Linked DNA regions of Homo sapiens: regions 2 and 3 are each linked to region 1. Evidence: promoter capture Hi-C in 16 types of primary human blood cells and fetal thymus (Javierre and others, 2016). All regions are on one chromosome and are shown on one strand. The core of a region is centred on a gene start or on the middle of the fragment in contact, and the rest is flanking DNA. Distances in the headings are between cores, read along the strand shown.

Region 1 (5,003 bases), core at 1,268-3,767:
CTCTAAAGATGTTCCCTCCATTTGCACTCCTGTGTACCTTCCATTATCATCGTTCTGCCCTAAGAATGAGCATATCGCTAAGGTTTAAATCGAATTTCTGATGAATAGGTGGAGATGCTGTTTCTGTAGTTAATACAATGCGACTACATCAACATCATTCCCCAAAAAATAAAATAAAAATGACTCAATATGCTTTATTTATTCACATCTGACAGAATTCTGATCACCTGAATTCCTTTGGAAGAAAATTCAATCTTTAGAAATACAGTCCAATTATTCTAAATCTTATCAATGTCAAAAGACAATCATATGAAAAACTCCATCAGTACCAAACCATCTCACCAATGAATATTTATGACATTTCCATATTTCCTGTCTTCTCTGTTTACATAAAGCGGTGGTGCCAAGACTCATCTCAGGATTATTAGCCTGCAATACAATGATGGGCCTAATTGCCTTGCAAACCAGGACACTAACAAATGGCGTCTTCAAGCAATCAATTTAAAGAGGGGGTAAAAAAGGCCCAAGCTCTTTTTGCCTATGTGCTTGTTACCTACCTACAAAATAAATTCAGTCTCATATTTTTCAGGCTCACTCATTAGTTCTCAAGCAAGGAATGCACCCTTAACAATCTCAAGCTCATCAAATCTATTTAAATTTCAAAATGCCTGGCTAGTTTTTAAATACACCAGGAGGAGAGGGGAAAAGAAAAGGCAGAGACATCATATAGAAAGATATCCATTACATTCCAGTTTATCTTCTCCCACCTTTAGTTTGGAAGTATGCTTTTTTCCCCCAACTTACTTTTTATGATATACAAATAACAGAAGACACCCTCCCCTCCTTAATTCTACCTTAACTAAATCCCCTTTCAACTTTACCCTTTGGGCTGACTTGACTTCCAAATTTTACTAATATAAATAAAACAAACAAAAACATCACCCGAACAGATTAAAATGGCCCCTAAGAATGAGAAGGTCTCTTCCGTGTCCCCTGCAAAGTCCCCTCTAACAGCCTTACTGCCTCTCACCCAACCACAGCCACCAAGGCTGTTCATTTAAGTATTCCAACCCTTAACCCTCATGTGTCTCTTGGAGGCCACCCCAATCCTTCACCACCAAAATAATCCAACCCAATTCCCCCCTGCTCTCCAGCACAGCTCACTGTCCCTCTCCATCCTCTCTGCCCCATCCATACCAACAGCTCCAGGTCTCCCATTCCTTAAATTTCCCCTGTGCCACCTCACCATCAGCAACCACCTCCCCAGGCCTACCAGCTCATCTCCGAAAGTCCTTCTCCAAAACTCCCTCTGCCACCTTGGCCAAGGGATATTTTCTTCAAGATACCATCCCCCAACTTTGCTCACCCCTGCCGCTATCCTTTCAATGAAAGCAGCCCAGTGATGTTTTATGTGCCCTCTGCCTTGACTCTGCAACCAAGGAGCCACCATGCCCTTTCCAGTGATTGTAAGATCACCCTAAATCCAACCCACTGTGCCCCACACTCCATTTCCATCCCTGTCCTCCCATTTCGGGCCTGACTTCCAATGTGGCCCCTTCCTGCCAGCTCACCATCACACTCCCCTCACTGAATGTCCCACCTCCACCAACTCCTATTCCAACCTCCATCAGCCCACCCCAGGAAACCCCCAAATTGCACTCTTCTGCTCTATCCTAACCCATGCTATTCCATAAGTCTCCACAAATTCCACCAGCCCCAGATGACAAACACCCACTTCAAGCTTGGGTCTCAACCCATGCCAAGCCCCTCACCCCCAACTCCTGCCACCTCCATCATCCTGCCCCAGGTCCACCCCAAATTCCACCCTTCTGAATTAACACTACGCAGGGCCCTAACCAACCCTGTACATGCCACTCACTCTCCGTTGAAATCATTCCCCTGCCCCTCACCCCAGCTCAGATCCCAAGCTGTCAACTGCTCCAGGCCAAACCCAAATCACCACCCTCATTCAGTCCCCTCCCCCATTAAAAGCCATCCCACCCTAGTCTCATCTTCCACCTCGCCCCAAGACCATCCCGAATTCCAACCCGACGCCCCCACCCCACTCTCCTGTCCCAGGTTGGGTTATTCTCCATCAAAAGTCCTCCTCCCTTGTCGCCCGCCCCCCAACCTGCTTGGGTCCCACCCTCACCCCACCCCCGGCCAGCGCCTGGACAAGTCTCCCCCGCCAGCCCGCCGTTCCATCGCGACCTCAACCCCCTCCCCCCAACCTGCACGGGGGCTCCGCAGCCTCCCCTCTCATTCTCGCCAGCGCCACCGGCCCAGACTCAGGACCAGCGGACCCTGTGGCGGGGGGAGTCTCCTCACCGGTGAGCAGCTGCAGGCGAAAACGGCGGCGGCGGCGGCTGAGGCGGCGATGCCCTTGTCTTCTCCGGAGGCTACGGCGGCGACGCTCTCGCCCGTGTCCAGTAGGGTGGCGGATGGCGCGCGGGGACCGGAGCCTCCTCCTCAGCGACTCGGCTCTGAATCCTCTGCAGTAGCCGCCGAGGAGCCCGACGGGTGGGGGGAGGGGACGCTCGGCTGCGGGCGAGGGAGGAGGAGGCGGAGGGAGGAGGCGGGGGACCGCTCAGAAGGGCAGGGAAGGAGGAGCCGGCGCGGCGCCGCGACACGTCCCACAGCCTCAGAGCGCCGGGACCACAACTCCCGGCATGCCCTGCTTTAGCCCGCGCGCGGCCTGCGCCTCCCGCCGCGAGCCCGGTGCAGAGGGGCCGCGCCCTCTCCGGTCACGGACAGTGGAATAAAGCCAACCATCCGCTGGCGAATTTTGTAGACTCAAAGACCACCTGTGAGGAAAGTCAGGTCGCCCGAGGCCCCATCCCCAAGGGGCCGTACTCGCAGCGTCTCCATCCTCTTTGCATAGACACCCCCCTCCCCCCGCCCACACACACACACACACTCTCTGTCTCTCCCTCTCTCCCTCTCTCCCTCTCTCCCTCTCCCTCTCGTCTCTGTCTCTGGACTACACCTCCCAGCATGCCCCTCAGCTTCCTATTCTCCTTCCGGACCCTTCTCAGACCCGGTACTACAGTTCCCAGGGAGTGTGGTCCCTGCGAAATGCTGGGAGATGGAGTTCTCGGTTCTTCCTCCATGTTAAGAAAAAGAAGTGAAAGAGAGGCAAAAGGGAAGGAATACGCCAGCCCACCGAGGATGGGCCTTGATGGGCTAGATCACCTGTGATTCTGTTCATCCCTCGCCATCTCCGTTTCAGCTGTCTCTCACCAGAACTAATGCCGGAGCTTCCTCGCTGGTCTCCCTGCAAATTTGAGGACGATTCGGCAACTTGAATCCAAACGACAAAGGGCATATCCTCTTCTTGACCCAGCTCCATTACTTTTAAGAATTTACCTTAAAAAGATGATCGAACAATTTCGAAAAGATGAATGCACAAAGTTGTTATATGACGTAGTTAATTATGAAGGGAGTAAATGTTCATCGATAGGGTGCTGCTTAAATAAGACGTGACATATACATACAATGCAATACTAAGGAGCCATTTAAAATGATATAAATCTATTGACATGAAAAGCTATTCACAATTTATTCTTCGGGGAAAAAGTTGATTACACAACAGCATGTCTACACGAGTGCATTTATGTGAGGTTTGACACAATATTCTACAAGCATGGAGAGATTTCAGGAAAGAGGTTCGCCAAAATATTAGCAATGATTATCTTGGGGGAAAGGGTGTCAGATTGCACGTAGGTTTTTTTTGTTTTTTGAGACGGAGTCTGGATCTATAGCCAGGCTGGAGTAAAGTGGGGGCGATCGCAGGTCACTGCAACCTCTGCCTCCCGGGTTCAAGCGATTCTCCTGCCTCAGCCTCCTGAGTAGCTGGGACTACAGGCGCGCGCCACCACATCCAGCTAATTTTTGTATTTTTAGTAGAGATGGGGTTTCACTATATTGGCCAGGATGGTCTCGATTTCTTGACCTCCTGACCTGCCCGCCTCAGCCTCCCAAAGTGCTGGGATTACAGGCATGAGCCACAATGCCCGACTGTAATTTTTGTTTTCATATTGTTTGAATTGTTTAAAAGGAGCACATAACGACTGTTTTTTGTTTTCTTTTTTGTTTTGTTTTAATTGTAAGAGACGTCGTCTCACTATATTGCCCAGGCTGGTTTCAAACTCCTGGCCTCAAGAGACCCTCCTGCCTCAGCTCTCAAAAGTGCTGGGATTACAGGTGTGAGCCACACTACACCTGGACAATTTTTTAAGCTGTGCTACTTCCAAAAAACATAATTTCCAAATCTAACAACCTTTCTTTGCTGCCTAGATGCTTTCCATGGCTTCCCATTGTCTCATTCATGCTTCAGCACTGTGCCTGCCTGGTTTTAATAGTTCCACTATTAAAACAAATAATAGTAGTCACTTCCAATTCATAAAGTTGGAAGGGAGAATTTTCTCAATTTTCAATGCGTCTTCTCAAAATTTTTCCATTTCTGGTCTTTCCACACCCATTTTCTCCTTTTCTCTTACTCATTCTTCAAACTCAAGCCAAAGTCCTACCTTCCCTAGAACATATTTTAGACACACTGGTTTTCCTTATATCTGAATTCTTTTTTGTTTGTTTGTTTGTTTGTTTGTTTGTTTGAGACAGAGTCTTGCTCTGTCAGCCAGGCTGGAGTACAGTGGTGCAATCTCGGCTCACTGCAACCTCCGTCTCCCGGGCTCAAGCAATTCTCCTGCCTCATCCTTCCGAGTAGCTGGGATTACAGGCATGTGCCACCATGCCTGGCTAATTTTTTTTTGTATTTTTAGTAGAGATGGGGTTTCACCATGTTGGCCAGGCTGGTCTTGAACTCCTGACCTCAGGTAATCCGCCTGCCTCGGCCTCCCAAAGTGCTGGGATTACAGGCGTGAGCCACCGCTCCCGGCTTATCTGAATTCTTATAGCAGTGGTTTCTAATCTGTTGGCCAGAGATCACGGTGGGGAGAGGAAGTGAAGAGAGAGGTACAGAGTTATTGTAAAGGGCCTATGCA
Region 2 (5,003 bases), core at 276-2,775, 900 kb after region 1:
GGTGGCATTACTTCTTCCACGGTGACGTGCCTCTGGAGCTCCTTACTCAAGGAAGTGACGCCTGTCCCAACCAGTCCACAGGGCACGATGTGCTCAAACCACGTGAGGTCGGTAGAGCAGTTGAGAGCCAGGCCGTGGGATGTGATGTGCCTTCCACAGCGGACTCCTGCAAGGCAAGCCAAAGGGTCTTAGAGTAGATACCCTCCACTCTCCGGGCTTTGGTGTCCCTCTCAGGGCGATGAGAAAACTGGATTAGATCACCGGTTTTCAAATTTTGTTTCTGGAGAAACAAGGGATTGTACTCAGATGGGAAAAGGAAACAAATGAAAGGAAGGGGTGCGTGGCTTCAAGCAGCTGCACTCATCATGAGGATTCCAGGAAATGTCTTTTAACAGATTCCAATACTTAAAAAAAAAAAAGCTTGGGGACAGGCGCAGTGGCTCACGCCTGTAATCCCAGCATTTTGGGAGGCCGAGGCGGGCGGATCACGAGGTCAGGAGATCGTGACCATCCTGGCTAACACGGTGAAACCCCATCTCTACTAAAAATACAAAAAATTAGCCGGGCTGGTGGTGGGCGCCTGTAGCCCCAGCTACTCTGGAGGCTGAGGCAGGAGAATGGCGTGAACCCGGGAGGCGGAGCTTGCAGTGGGCCGAGATTGCGCCACTGCACTCCAGCCTGGGTGACAAAGCGAGACTCTGTCTCAAAAAAAAAAAAAAAAAAAAGTTTGAAAATTAGCACCCTTATTTGCCATGACATTGTCATTCGCAGGACGTAACCTGGCAATTCACTTCTCTTGTCTCTCCCTTAACAGAAATGCGTGTTGGACTAGATGTGAGGAGCCTTCTGCTTCTGAATATACGATATCTGAAAAGGGGCTTAAAAACTCAAACGCAGCGGGTAGCTGTGATTCAAAACCCGCGCTAGATACGCCTCCTCCCGGCCCTCACCTCCGTTGGTCCAGCCCCGTCAGACCCCGCCCCCAGGCCTCAAGCTCCGACCTCGGCTCTCAGGTACCGCCCTGCTCCGCGGCGCTCACCGATCGCGCAGATCTTGCGATCGTCTAGCCAGACGCCAGTGTAGGGCGGGGGCCGCGCGCGGGCGTCCTGCAGGCCCTGGAGCTCGCACAGGCGCACGGCGCACGCCTCCAGCGACGCTACGTGCATGCGCAAGCGCAGGCCGAGACGCCGCAGGTCGAGTACCGGGTGGCAAAGCAGCTGGCCCGGGCCGTGGAAGGTGGCCAGGCCACCGCGGCCTGTGACGCGCACCTCGGCGCCCAAGGCCCGTAGCCGCGCAGTTTCCTCGGGCGTCAGGCCGCCGCGCAGCCCGGCCGTATACACGGGCCCCGCGGGCTCGCAGAGCAGGAGCGCGCCCGCCTCAGTCCCCGACGGGGCCTCAATGCCTGGCTCGGCCTGCAGCCGCCGCAGCCAGCGGTCCTGCAGCCCCAGTAGCTCGGCGTACGGCACCCGACCCAGGCGCACCAACCGAACGGCGGGTTGCCGCATCGTGCCCACCGTTGCGTCCGCGGGGCCCCGCCCTCTCCGTGGGCCTGGGGGCGTGGCCTGAGGGGCGGGGACTCGGGGGCACACCCCGAGCCGCAGCTCCCAGGTGCGTGTTAAAAGCTGGAGGGGGGATATGTGATCCCAGGACCAAAAGCGCGGGGCCAGACTCATCGGTTCATTCAACAACCAGTATTTAGTGCCTGCTGTGTTCTGCAGGCCCTGCCATAGGCGCTTGATACAGCGGTGCATAGCGTATGAGAAAGATCTGTCCTGGTAAGCTTACATTCTTACAGCAGACGATAAGTATTTTAAGTGTTAAGTAAATAAGGTTATTTCACGTATAAGGTGTTAAATGCTATGAAAAGAAAAATAAAACAGGGTAACGTGGTGTGTCCTGTGTTGAGCCCCTGGGGGACGCAAGAGGGAGATTAGCTTGCCTACAAGGTTATTGGTGGAGGTAGGGAGAACTTAAAGATCAGCACCTGTAAGAAAGTGAAGGAAGCAGGAATTTGTAGGCAGAGGAAGAAGTTGGCCTGCAAAACAGTTGCAGCAGAGGCCTTGACCAATCCCAAGGCATGCTTGGAGCCTAGGATGACCCTTCAGAGTAGTTCCACATTAAAGCAAGGGGGCCAGAAACTCTTATCCTTGCATTGACCAGTCATGGATACAGGCTACACCTGGGGAGGAGCTGTGATTTTTTTTTTTTTTTTTTTTTTGGCAAGACTGCTTCCCTCGGTGGAGGGCGGCCCCCAGAGAAGGACTCAGTTGTGTATCATCAGTAACCAACTCCAGAAGCTGAGGGAATGACTGTCTAGGCCCTGAGGGGGTGTCTGGACCACAACATCAGCTATGTTGCAGTTAGAGTATCATTTAAACAAGTCTGAATTCAATGAATTTTTACTGAGGACTTTTCAGACACCATAGGTGTCTGAAAAACATTTCATAAACATAGACATAAAGATCCTAAGCAAATATTAGCAAATCAAATCCAGCAATTTATAAAAGGATTAATACATCATGATGAAGTAGGGTTTATCCCGGGAATGCAAGGTTGGTTTTGCATTCTGAAATCAAACAATGTAATTTACCTTAAAAGAGAAAAGCCTTCATTGGAAGAAATAATAAAAATTTTTTTTAAAGAAAAGCTATGATTATGTTAAAAAATACAGATAAATCTATTGGCAAAAATAAACACCTCTTCTGACCAAAATACTTAGCAATCTAGGAATAGAAGAGAAATTTTCCAGTCTGATGAAGGGTTCAAATTATCAATCAGGGTTTGGACAAGAGAAATCACATATGTACTATTTTAATTAAATGTTTTATTTGAGAAAATTGGACACTCATATGCAGTTGTAAGGAATAATATGGACAGATTATATGTACCCTTTACCCAGCTTCCCCCAATGGAAACACCTTGCAAAACTGTAGTACAATATCACAACCAGGATACTGACATTGATAAAGTCAAGATGCAGAACATTTTCATCACCACAAGGATCCCTCATGTTGCTCTTTGTAGTTACACTGCTTCTTAATTCCTGGCAAACGTCTGTGTTGTATAGATGGAATCATACAGAGTGCAACCTTTTAGAATTTTTTTTTCACTCAGCATAATTATCTGGAGACTCATCCAAGTTGTTGCATGTATCAATAGCGCGTTTCTTTTTATTGATGAGTAGTAGTCCATAGTATGAATGTACCACAGTTTGTTTAGCCATTCACTCACTGAAGAACACCTGGGTTGTTTCCAGTTTTCAGATATTCTGAGTAAAGGTACTGTAAACATTTGTGTACAGGTTTTTGTGTGAACTAAGTTTTCATCTCTCCGGAATAAATGCCCAGGAGTGCAGTTGCTGGGTTGCATGGTAGTTACATGTTTCGTTTTTTAAGAAACTGCCAAAATGCTTTCCAGAGCGGCTGTACCATTTTACATACCCACCACCAGTGTATGAATGATCAAGTTTGTCTGCATCCTCATGAGCATTAGCTTTTATTTTAGCCATTCTAATAGGTGTGTGGTGGTGTCTTATTGTGATTTTAATTTGTATTTCCCTATTGACTAATGATGTAAGACATCTTTTCATGTGCTTATCTTCCATGTGTATATTCCCTTCAGTGAAATGTCTGTTCATGTCTTTTGCCCATTTTCTAATTAATTGTTTTTCGTACTGTTGAGTTTTGAGATATCTTTATATATTCTAGATATTAGCCCTTTGTCAAATATGTGCTTTGTAAACAGTTTCTCACAGTGTATGGCTTGTATTTTCATCCTCTTAACCGTATCTTTTGCAGAGCAAAAGTTTGTCATTGTGATAAGGTCCAATTTATCCACTTTTCCTTTTATTGATGCTTTTGGTTTAATAACTCTTTGCCCAGCCCTAGATCCTGAAGACATTCTACTGCCTATTTTTTTAAAGATTTTTTATTTTACATTTAAGTCTATGATACATTTTGAGTTAATTTTTTATTTATTATTATTATACTTTAAGTTTTAGGGTACATGTGCACAATGTGCAGGTTAGTTACATATGTATACATGTGCCATGCTGGTGTGCTGCACCCATTAACTCGTCATTTAGCATTAGGTATATCTCCTAATGCTATCCCTCCCCCCCCCCACAAAATTGACAAATGGGATCTAGTTAAACTAAAGAGCTTCTGCACAGCAAAAGAAACTACCATCAGAGTGAACAGGCAACCTACAAAATGGGAGTTAATTTTTAAAATAGGTGTAAAACTTTGGTTGTTGTTGCGGTTGTTCTTTTTTGTTTGTTTGCATATACATGTTACATTACGCCAACACCATTTGTTCAAAAGGCTATGTTTCCTCCATTGAATTGCTTTTATGCCTTTGTCAAAACCAGTTGGACATATTCGTGTGATCCTATTTCCAGTTTCTGTATTCTGTTCCATTGATCTATGTGTTTATTCCTCTACCAATACAGGCTGAGCATCCGTAATATAAAAATCTGAAATCTGAAATGCTCCAAAATCCTAAACTTTTTGAGTGCTGACATTATGCCACAAATGGAAAATTTCATACCTGACCTTATGTGAGTTGCAGTCAAAACACAGGTGCACAACACCCAGTTCATGCAACATCCCCAGTGGGAAAAAAGACCCCCCCAGCTCTCTTCTGCTGCAGTTTTTCTGCTCACACCTGGATTTCCCCATGCATTCCCACAAAAAGTAATTAAATGGCATGCGTGCAGGCTGGACACGCCAACAACAGGTTTCCCACAATGCCCCACATGGGGCCAAGACCTGTGTGCATTACTCACTGCATTTTTTTGCTTATTCTCTGCTGTGTGGTATAAATATATTGTTGAAAATGTCAAAAAGACCTAAAGATACCCCTGTGAATATCAGTGATAAGAAAAAGAGGAAGCATTTATGTTTATCTATAGCACAGAAAGTCAAGTTGTTGGAGAAACTGGACAGTGGTGTAAGTGTGAAACATCTTACGGAAGAGTATGGTGTTGGAATGACCACCATATA
Region 3 (5,003 bases), core at 801-3,300, 580 kb after region 1:
AAATGGCTTGTGCCAGGTTAGGGGATACTTGGGCCGAGGAGAAAGAATGAGGTGAACATGGGAGAAGTAATTGCTGGAAAGTGGAGAGAATTGAATAGGCATTTGGTTTTGAGGGGATATTTGTAGTTTCAAACAGGATTCTGGGAATTAGTGACTGTAAAGAGAAAAGGAGTAGGAAAGATACTTAGGTATGAGGGCTCCAGAGTATATTTGGGATTCTAGAGATGAATTGGTAGATATTCTTTGAAAAAGGACTACAGAAGAGAAACCTTAGGTTCTGAAGAAGTAATATGTGTAAAAACTTATCAAAAAGGAGGCGAGAGTAGGAGATGCAGTACTGTGACAGTAAGTCCTAGGGATGAAAAGAAAGGAGAATCCTATAAAACAGTGGGGTAAAGGAATGGGAAAAATGGGTGGAAAAACCAGGGAAGGAAACTAAGAATTGAGTGGAGACCTGCTATGATACGCAGTAGAAAAATGAGAAAACTTTAGCAGGAGGAGATAGAGAGATAGACGCACAATAGAGGTAGAAGGCTACATAGAAGGTAAAGTGAAGATTGTTTTGGCTTTGGAAGACAGAAAAGTTGGACTATAACATGAATAAAGAGAATTTGGAAACTGACCCATAACATTATTTGGGAAAACTAACCTGGAGTTTAATATTAATGTAACATTAATTGTTGTTAAATATCTTAGTTGCTGCCTTTCTTAAAATAAATTTGATTTTTCAGTATACCAGCACCCTTCTATACAAATACATAAGAAAATCAGATTTTTAATAATTATACATTCCTTAGATAAGCTTAATTAGAGCTCAGCTTCTCATCTTGGAGAAACAAGTTCTCTGAAGATTGAAGAACTGAATGAAGATACTGAGAGAAAAAAAAAGGAAAATCTGCTGATTAGAAGATTGTATAATTGTTAGTAATTTATCGTTTTTATTTTTTATTACTTTTCATTTTATTTTTTTTTAGAGACAGAGTCTCACTCTGTTGCCCAGGCTAGAGTGCAGTGGCACAATCTCGGCTCACTGCAACTTCCACCTCCCGGGCTCAAGTGATTCTTGTGCCTCAGCCTCCCAAGTAGCTGGGATTACAGGCATGCACCACCACGCCCGGCTAATTTTTGTATTTTTAGTAGAGAGGGGATTTCGCCATGTTGGCCAGGCTGGTCTTAAACTCCTGGCCTTAAGTGATCTGCCCCACTTGGCTTCCCAAAGTACTGGGATTATAGGAGTGAGCTACTGTGCCTGGACAACTTACCTTTTTAAAAAGATGCTTTGGTCTTCTTGGTTTAGGTTAACTGCTTATCCTGGAAAAGAAAGTTCTTTAGAAAGGCCTTTCTTTATGATAGTATTGTGAAGAGAAGAGCATATATTGGCGAATATTTGTGTGGTCCTCAAATGGCTTATTTTCCCGTATCTTTCTTTTCTACTTTATTGGTATATAAGCAGGCTTCATCTAAGTCTCATGGTAGTAATAATATAGATTCTCTTTCTCCTTAGAATCATAAAGCTGAGAGAAAGCATAGACATGGTCTCATTTCACCACTTCATGTAGTTGAGGAACCCAATATTCAGAGAGTTCTGTATTCTATAAGGGAATGTATTAATAAATGAGGGAACTGAGACTCAGATATTCCTAAGGTACCCTAGAAGCTTAGCGGTAGGGCCGTTAAGGACTAGGACTTGGGTCTCTTGACTGTGAGACCCATTGTGTATTTTGGAGTCATAATTGTCATCTGGGGATACTTATTTTGAGTTGTGTATCTTACTCATTTGCATATAATCTAGGATTCAGTCTTTTTCTTCAGTCGTAATTTATGAAGTCTCACACCAATTTCAAAGCATTCTTTATGTCTCCTTATGCTTACTTGCTTTTTTCTTAACTTCCATTCTTCCACTCTATCTATGTTACTCACAAGTTAGTCCTGTTCTCTTGATAGTCTCTTGTGTGGCTTACTCTTAACTATTTTTCATGATCTCTTGCCTTCAATTTCACTAAACATTATTTAGGCATGTTTGCATATTCAGGGTGCATATTCTGAGTTGGTGATTTTTCATGAGTTTCCATAATTCAGTTTTTCAGATTAGATTTAGTAATTCCAAAGTATTGTTGGATAATTTAATAATAGCAATTTTTAAAGTAAGTACTGTGTGCCAGACATTGTAATGGTAACTTTATGTTATTTAATGTGTCCACAGACCTGCATGGTGAATATTTTCCTGCATTGTGGGTAAAGACATTCAGACCCAGAGATTAAAAGTAACCCAACTAGTAGGTAGCAGAGCTAGGATTCAATCTAAGTTTAGTCTCTAGAATCCATTCACTTTTCAGTACACTAATATTTTCTCTTGGGTAAGGCCTGAAATCCTGGTGTCACTCTTCCTTTTAATAGATGCCAATGGATGTTGCCAAAAACAGTGGTTTTGAACTTCTTTATTAAAGCTTTTAGAGCTACTCTGACTAAAGTAGATTTGAGATCCCTATTTGCTTTGCACCCCTGGTGTGCTTGAGAGAAGTATCTTTTGAAAGTCACTGCTTTCGTATATACTATTACTATTAGAGGAACTATAAAATATTAAAGCCATTCATTATTCAACGTGTTTTTGGTTTATCAGTAGTTGTACTTTTTGGCCAGGTGTGGTGGCTCATGCCTGTAATCTCAGCACTTTGGGAGGCCGAGGCGGGTGGATCACCTGAGGTCGGGAGTTCAAGACCAGCCTGACCAACATAGAAAAACACCGTCTCTCCTAAAAATACAAAATTAGCTGGCGTGGTGGCACATGCCTGTAATCCCAGCTACTCAGGAGGCTGAGGCAGGAGAATCACTTGAACCTGGGAGGCGGAGGTTGTGGTGAGCCGAGATCGCGCCATTGCACTCCAGCCAGGGCAACAAGAGCGAAACTCCATCTCAAAAAAAAAAAAGTTCTACTTTTCTATTATTATCTCTTAAATTCCTTTTTTTTTCTTTTGCAAGAGATAGAGTCTTGCTGTGTTGCCCAGGCTGAAGTACAGTGGCTTTTCACAGGCATAATCTTGGTGCATTACAACCTCAAACTCGTGGGCTCAAGCAGTCTTCCCACTTCATCCTCTTGAGTAGGTAGGACTGAGGATACATGCTAGCATGCCCAGCTCTGTAGTGATTTAACTGACATGTATATAGTAGTCCCTTTTTATATTCTATGAGGTAAACTAGGGCAGGAGTTAATATTTTCTTTTAATAAATGAGAAAACTGAAATGTTCATTGACTTGCCTAAGATCACAGAATCATTATGTGGCAGGAACAACATTCAAACCCAGGACTTCGTATTTTTAGTCCATTGTTCTTTCTATAGCTTGCATTGAAGGGTTTGATATTTGAAGTGACAAAGATCTAAGTTTGAAGCCCAACTTAGGTATTTACATTGGTCGAGTCATTTAACTTCTCATAGTCTATTTTCTTATCTCTAAAATGAGAATACTTCTGCTTACCTGAGAGTGCTGTGAGAATAAGATAATACATAAAAAGCACTTATAGTTCCTGACACTGACACATAAGCTCTTAAAGAATGATAGCTAGTAGATAATTATACATTGAGAACTGTGAAGAAGGTTCATAGTTTATGTGGAAGCTCTCCTTTCAGTTTCTTATGTTATCAGCTTTTTTGTCCCCACAAGCTGTATGTTTATTCATATCTGATTAGATAGTCTTTCATCCATCTTCTTAAATTTATTATGGATATCAGGCCTCTTAGGAAGGCTTTAATGAGCTATTCACACAGATGGGGAAATAAAGGGCAAAGTGAAGTGATTTGCTCAAGGTCACAAATTGAGTTACTAAAATAATCAAATCCCAGTATTTCTGTTTTTTTTTTTATTTTTTCATTAGATTTTTAAAAAGTTAAATTTATATGCCATAGAATTCACTCTTTTAAATGTACAATTCAGTGATTTTTGGTATATTCACTCAGTTGTACAATTACCACCACTAATTGCAGAACATTTTCATCCTCCCATAAACTCGTTACTCATTAGCATCTTCCCTTCCTCCCAGCATGTATTGCTTCTGGATCTTGAGTCACAGAAAGGCTTTTCCTTTTTTTGGGTTATAAAGGAATCATTTATATTTTTTCCTGGTACCTGTGTAGTGTCCTTTTTTTTTTTTTTTTTTTTTTTGAGACAGAGTCTTGCTCTGTCACCGAGGCCGGATGGAGTGCAGTGGTGTGATCTTGGCCCACTACAACCTCCACTTCCCGGGTTCAGGCGATTCTCCTGCTTCAGCCTCCCAAGTAGCTGGGATTACAGGCATGCACCACCACACCCAGCTAATTTTTGTATTTTTAGTAGAGACGGGGTTTCATTATGTTGGCCAGGCTGCTCTTGAACTCCTGGCCCCAGGTAATCCACCCACCTCAGCCTTCCAAAGTGCTGGGATTACAGGCATGAGCCAATTTTTTTTTAATCCATTTGAAGTTTATCTTGATATGCAAAGTGAGGAAAAGAAGACATTTTATTTTTATCCAAAGGCTATCTAGTTGTTTTCATCATTTATTAAATTTTTTAGTCCTTTACCCATTACGTAAATTTCACTACAATAAAGAAATAGTCCTGGCCAGGCTCAGTGGTCCATGCCTGTAATCCCAGCACTTTGGGAGGCCAAGGCATGTGGACCACTTGAGCTTGGGAGTTGGAGACCAGCCTGGACAACATGGTGAAACCTCTTCTCTACAAAAATCACAAAAATTTAGCTGGGTGTGGTGGTGTGTGCCTGTAGTCCCAGCTACTCTGGAGGATCATTTGAGTCCGGGAAGCAAAGGTTGCAGTGAGCCAAGATAATGCCCCTGCACTCTAGCCTGGGACACAGAGTGAGACTTTGTCTCAAAAAAAAAAAAAAAAGTCTTCTTTCTCACTGATTAAAATGACACCTTTGTCATATGCCAAATTTCTATATAAATCCGGGTCTGTGGAGTTTCTTTTACGTGCCACTACTGTACTTTTAATTAGAGGATTTATTAATATGT

What was found. Contacts are between HindIII fragments. The CHiCAGO score rates a contact against its expected background, and 5 or more counts as called.
Region 2: a contact is called between the fragment with the promoter of LIPT2 here and the fragment with the promoter of FAM168A in region 1, in 1 of 17 cell types (naive CD8 T cells). The highest score is 6.4, in naive CD8 T cells.
Region 3: a fragment that was not itself captured here is called in contact with the fragment with the promoter of FAM168A in region 1 in 1 of 17 cell types (non-activated CD4 T cells); the score reaches 5.1 in non-activated CD4 T cells.

What each region holds. Positions count from the first base shown.
Region 1 is chr11:73,595,595-73,600,597 of GRCh38, forward strand. It overlaps FAM168A (family with sequence similarity 168 member A), which reads right to left and starts at 2,518. Exons shown (of 8, transcript NM_015159.3): 1 at 2,329-2,518. RefSeq lists an enhancer at 1,852-2,580 and silencers at 2,472-2,601, 2,732-2,961. The HindIII fragment of the contact is 4,267 bases long and covers 1,740-5,003 here.
Region 2 is chr11:74,492,199-74,497,201 of GRCh38, forward strand. LIPT2 (lipoyl(octanoyl) transferase 2) reads right to left here and starts at 1,526. Exons shown (of 2, transcript NM_001144869.3): 1 at 1,040-1,526; 2 at 1-166. The coding sequence starts at 1,505. It overlaps LIPT2-AS1 (LIPT2 antisense RNA 1), which reads left to right and starts at 1,182. Exons shown (of 2, transcript NR_171028.1): 1 at 1,182-1,775; 2 at 4,451-5,003. RefSeq lists silencers at 1,292-1,401, 1,512-1,761. The HindIII fragment of the contact is 1,360 bases long and covers 419-1,778 here.
Region 3 is chr11:74,172,587-74,177,589 of GRCh38, forward strand. All of the region lies in intron 1 of PPME1 (protein phosphatase methylesterase 1), which reads left to right. Among named protein-coding and RNA genes, the nearest start is that of PPME1, 3.8 kb to the left of the region's middle. The HindIII fragment of the contact is 790 bases long and covers 1,656-2,445 here.